Regions from separate parts of the Homo sapiens genome. Here region 1 is linked to region 2. The links are contacts of gene promoters, found by promoter capture Hi-C in human tissues and cell types (Jung and others, 2019). All regions are on one chromosome and are shown on one strand. Each heading gives the region's core, a stretch centred on a gene start or on the middle of the fragment in contact. The rest is flanking DNA. Distances are from core to core; before and after follow the strand shown.

What was found. Contacts are between HindIII fragments. The study calls those that stand out against the background at their distance.
Region 1: a fragment that was not itself captured here is called in contact with the fragment with the promoter of GREM1 in region 2 in 1 of the 25 tissues and cell types used here (IMR-90 fibroblasts).

What each region holds. Positions count from the first base shown.
Region 1 is chr15:32,764,648-32,767,350 of GRCh38, forward strand. FMN1 (formin 1) reads right to left here. Exons shown (of 21, transcript NM_001277313.2): 21 at 897-2,703. Among named protein-coding and RNA genes, the nearest start is that of GREM1-AS1, 47 kb to the left of the region's middle. The HindIII fragment of the contact is 6,406 bases long and covers 1-2,703 here.
Region 2 is chr15:32,716,604-32,719,491 of GRCh38, forward strand. GREM1 (gremlin 1, DAN family BMP antagonist) reads left to right here and starts at 1,401. Exons shown (of 2, transcript NM_013372.7): 1 at 1,401-1,558. GREM1-AS1 (GREM1 antisense RNA 1) reads right to left here and starts at 2,262. Exons shown (of 2, transcript NR_109767.1): 1 at 1,942-2,262; 2 at 1,498-1,761. RefSeq lists enhancers at 907-1,407, 1,545-2,123, 2,124-2,701. The HindIII fragment of the contact is 12,229 bases long and covers 1-2,888 here.

The DNA of each region.
Region 1 (2,703 bases), core at 193-2,692, 48 kb after region 2:
CTAGAATATTTCTCCATGATAGAGTATTTTGAAGGAGAGAGCGGTCTAATTTGATGAATGAATCCATCAGTTGGAAGGGCTTTGGCCTTAGTGTCAAGAAATCTGGGTTCTAGTCTTGAAGTGTTCACCAACAGTAAGTGTGATTTTTAGCAATTCCCTTGAACTTCAGAAGTTTTACTGAGATATTTTCTCCAATGTCCAAAGATTTTTGCAGCTCACTGACTATGATTTAGAAGATTTTGTAGTGGTGAAATGTCTTCCTAGATAATAACTATGTATGTTCATTAAACATTGCTATACATAATAGGGTATATTGCAGCAAATATCTAGAACTGTAGCGTACGGCATTCAGGAACACCAAAGAAATGAATTAACTAAAAAGCACAATTACATTTGTATTTAAATAGAAGACTGTTTTGCTTAAAGTGTTTTATGTTTATAAAATACCTGCATGCTTCATATTATTCCTTGAAAAGAATGTGTACCTTGTGCTTAGTAAAAGAATCCATACAATTATGTTTCTATTCTGTTTCTCCAGTTTATTATTTTCAACCTATAGCCTGAAGTCACCAATCTCTTTGTGCCCCGTCCCTTGGGCAATGTATATTCAGGAAGTGTTGCTTTTGGGTAAGCCTTGTTGAGACAATGCCTGGCTGGTTTTGTCTGTTGGTTGTTAGCCTTGAATGTCTGGCCAAGTTGCCCACAGTTGATAGGGGACAAATGGGAGAAAAACGGAAATACCAACGATAGACTTCCTCAGACTCAGCTCTTGCAGCTCAGAATAGTGTACCCGAGTGGTAACGCAAGTTAGAAATGACTGGTGTTCTCCACATTACAGTACTACTGGGATATTGCTTTACATGCCTCCTGAAAACAAATCTGCATTGCACACCAGATGGACATGAAACCAAGATTTATTAAAATACCCTTAGCATATTTACAATTGAAAGCCATGAATGCAATTCTCTGTAAATTCCAAAAAATATAATTCTCTTAAAACAAATTAACAGAGGTATCAACAGATTAGGATAAATATAATCTATCACAGAGATAGAATTTTTTGAATAGACAATTGACGTTTTTCTAATCAATATATATTATGTACAAAAATACACTTGATATTGTGACCAAGTACTGTCAAGGAGGAAAAAATATATATATATAATACACACATTTTTATTATGTACAAATCAGTGTTGGTTCCTTCACTCTCTTTTTAAAAATAAATACTTCATTTGGTTGCAAATGACATTTATAAATTCAACTCATGAGCATTTCTCAGCTTTGACAAAATTAAATATGCAAACAAATTAGAAATACGTATTTTTAAAAATGCAAAGGGAAAAATACCTGAATCCAATGAGCTTATTATGCTTAAAAATATCCCAAGAGCGTGTAAGGTTTCATGTCTTTAAAGGGCCTTCTCCTTTCCCCAACTGTCTTCATTACTGCCTACAATCTTTTCAGATTATATCTACAGACTGGTCTAATACTTAATTAAACAGAAAAGCCTATGTTTTACCAGGTTAAATGGCTATTTAGGACATGCTTGCACTTTTAAGTGCTTTCAAGAGTGTAGCAGTTACTGTTCATCTGAAAATAACCAAGAAGTGTCAACATCCTGATTCAGAACAGGGGTAGATGTTTGAATCATGAATAGTAGTAAGAATGGAGCGGCAATAAAAATCCTTATGATTCAAAGTGTTTGCCTGCACAGAATTAAGTCAATTTGTCCAGCACCACAGAAAGTTACTTGAGATTCAAAAATCTGGCGTTCTGCATCATAGCTGGTGACCCGGTCTGATGTACAAATTTATCAAGAGAATGGCCTTAATTAGTTTAAGGTAAAATCTATGAGAAATTGAGAAGGCCTAGAATAAGAACCCCCCCCCCACCCCGCCCAATCTTCTTAAAATAAAATAAAAAGAGACGTATTTTCCATCTCTTTTATGGATTTTCCTTTTTGCTTAAGTGATGAGGTGATGCTGACATTAACAAGAGGCAGTCACAGCAGTGTGTCTCACATGGGCTCCTTGGTGACAGCGGAGCTCCCTGTCCAAACGGCTGAGGAACGGAGCACAGGGTGTGAGAGGATGGAGGAGGGGCCAAGGGAGCTACTCAGTTGTCTATGATGCAGAGGTGTGAAAAAATCTGGGTCTGGGGGAAACTGTAAAGTAGGAAAGAAATAGCCATGGAATATGAAGGAAAAGGACGAGGAAACAGAAGTATTGAAAGAAGAAAGTGAAACAAAGCTAGAAGTCAAAATGACTTTTGAACAGGCATGGAGTAAACAGGGTCTATGGTCAAGCAGCCCCATGGATCTGAAATTGTTGGAGCTGTTAAACCAAGCACAGACCAGTTTCACTGGGGTACCTGCTTTCCCAGTACATTGGCACTGATCAATACAAGATCAAGGGCACTCACATTTGCCTAATACAGATGCCTTGAATTTCCACGGAAAAGCTGTCCACGATACGACCATGGCAAAAAATCACCAGCTCCCTAACAATGTAATCTATCAGCAAAACATTGCACTAGCCTCGTTCAAATTTTTCTCCTCCATGCGTCCTTTTTTTCTTGCTCATCCCATTGCTTGCAAACTCACAAGATACCAGTTATATGAAGACATAAAACTGCATGGATCAGGTGCACTTTAGAAAGCAGCATCCAGGGTCCAGGGTGTCACTAAGAAAACTAAACCCT
Region 2 (2,888 bases), core at 151-2,650:
AGAGGACTAAGATTTTAAGGATACTAATGCAGACGTCCTTCTTGCTTCATTTATTTAAAAATATCTATTTCACGTTCCTAACAGCATCTAGTAGATGTTTCTTGCTTCTTCCCCCTAACGCCGGACTAAAGAGAAAAAAAAAATAGGCTGTTTTCTGGTCTGGTTTTGTTTTCCTAGTCAAGTACTTAAATTACGGGTGTTTCGTAAGTATCTTTTGATGGATTTCATTGTTTTGTTTATTTCGCGTTAGACAATACAGACACCTTCATATTTCCTTCTGTAGCAAATCTTTTTCAAAGTCTTCATTTGACGTGGCTGATGGAGCTGGTCTGCAGATCTTGCAGACGTGTTAATTTTTGCACGGACTTTAGCTTCAACACACAAAACTTACGGCCTCTTTGAGGAACCAATTTTTCAGGCTAAGAGAACAAATGAAAGTGTTCGCTCATCTTTCGAAAACTATTTATGTACTTGGTATCCGGAATGTGACATTGGTTTTACACGTCGGTAGGTTTTTGTCCTAAATTTCTGGGAAGTTACTTCCTCATCTAACGTTTTATTTTCCTGACTTATTCGTCTTTGATATGCTACAGAAAACCCCTCTCGCCCAGTGGCTGTTTTCTCTCTGTCTCTTAAGATAATTTAGGAACAGAAGCCTTGACTTTTGACGGTCATTTAGTTTTATTCTCCTCCCGTGACTCCCCTCTGTACACTCACAGGGGAGGCCGCCGGCATCTGGGCTGAAAGAACCCTTGGCGGGCGAGGAGAGCAGGGTGTCATGTTGGCGACAGGCTCCTGCTGGCGGCCAGCGAGCCCGCCAGGTTAACGGGGGCGCCGGGGTCAGCGCCCTCGAAGTTGGGGGCCTCGGGCGGGGCCGCCGGGGAGCCACGACGGCCGCTCGACCAGAGCATCCCGCAGTCCCGTTCCCTCCAGAGGGGAAGAATGGCCGAATCTGGCACGATCCCACGGAGATCTCGCTCTTCCCAGCGCAGTCTCCGCTACTGAGCGCGGGACCAACGCAGGCGATGCCGGGCGGCCGACAGGGAAAGCCCAGACCTGGGGCAGAGAAGGAATGAGGGGCCGCCAGCCGGGGGGATTTCCTCCCGCTCTTCCCTCTCCAACGGGAGCGGAAAATGTGATTTGCTGTGCATTCCAGGCGCGGTTCCCTGGGGTGACCTCTCCCAGCCGGCCCGGGCGGGGGGAGCAGACAAAGAGGCGAGGCGGGCGGAGAGGGGACCCCGCGGGGAAGCAGGAGGGGTGCGGGGGGCGGGGGCAGTACCGGGAAAGGGGGCGGATAGCGGGTCTGGCGGCGGCGGCGGCGCCTGGCCAATGGAGAGGCGCGGCCCCGGGCGCCGCGCTCTGCCGCCGGCATTTAAACGGGAGACGGCGCGATGCCTGGCACTCGGTGCGCCTTCCGCGGACCGGGCGACCCAGTGCACGGCCGCCGCGTCACTCTCGGTCCCGCTGACCCCGCGCCGAGCCCCGGCGGCTCTGGCCGCGGCCGCACTCAGCGCCACGCGTCGAAAGCGCAGGCCCCGAGGACCCGCCGCACTGACAGGTGAGCGCGGACGCACCCGGCAGGGATGTGAGTGGGCGGAGGGAAGAGGGCCGCAAACCAACCCAGGACCCGCTCAGTTCCACGCGCGGCAGCCCTCCGTGCGCGCAGGCTCGGGTGCGTTGTTCGCGGGGGTGAATTGTGAAGAACCATCGCGGGGTCCTTCCTGCTGAGGCCGCGGACACCGTGACCTCGCTGCTCTGGGTCTGCAGGGAAACGTAGGAAAAAAAGTTGTCAGGAGCGGGCAGGATGACCCCCACATCCCGTTTCCACCTCCCGGAGGCCCCCGAACACGCTCCTGGTGCTGGTGGCAGCAGCGCCTGGCAGACGCGCCCGCTTAGCGAGGGCGCGAAGTCCAGGCCGCCAGAGCGCAGGAGCATCCGGACCTGCTAGTCGGCCGCTGACTGCGCGGCGAGTTGCCTTGAGAGGGTCCCATGTGCTTGGGGCGCCGCGCTGGGTCTGGGGGCGTCTTGGGGCGCCCATTGGAGTCCGCGGGTTGGAGCATCCGGAGAATCCATGATGTGTGCATTTGCCGATCCCCGAGGTGAGATGGAGACTGGCAAGGGCAGAGCCGCTGTGTTCAGCCACAGCGGAAAACCGAACGGTGGGTAATCCGACAGCTGCGGTGCGGGGCGCGGCCCTGGCCGCGGGGTCCAGCGAACCCGCAGTGCTCACAAGGCAGACACCACACGCGCTCGCGGACCGGCCACGCACTCGCGGGCGCTCGCTTCTCTACTCCAGCCTCTTCCCCGCCCCGCGCACGCCCGGGCTGAATGGTAGACGTTCTGGCGCCGGGCAGCGGCCACCGGCTGGTTCCCACTTCCGCGCGCACCCCTTAAACTGTGTTCTAGAGGCCCCAGCCTCGCCTTGCAGCGCCTCACTAGCTCCTGAGGACTAGGGACTGGCGGCTGAGGCGGGTTGGCGGCTGCAACGAGCTGGGCGTCTTTCGTTCTCTCTCGCTGCCTGGCTGGCTCCGCTGGCCCCTCCACAGCTTGCGGAGCAAGGCCATAGCAGGGGAGTGGGAGGTATATTGGGGCTGTCACCTCCTTGCTGGCCGGAGTTATTTGTAGACTACAGACTCCGGAAGAACAGACGCGCCACCGCTCTCGCTTGGCATTGCCTTCGGATCGCAGCTCCTCCTTGGGGGTGCCCCAGCTTGGCGTTTATTTGCCTGCGCCAGGCTCTGGCGACGGTCACCGGGCCAGGCGGGGAGGGACGGACGGCAGGTGACCAGCCTCTGCTGTGAAGAAATTCCTGCGCGCCCGGAGCTGTCCCTAATGCATTCCCGGGTCGAATCCGTCTACTGCCTTCCCCTCCTCGACCGACTCCGAAT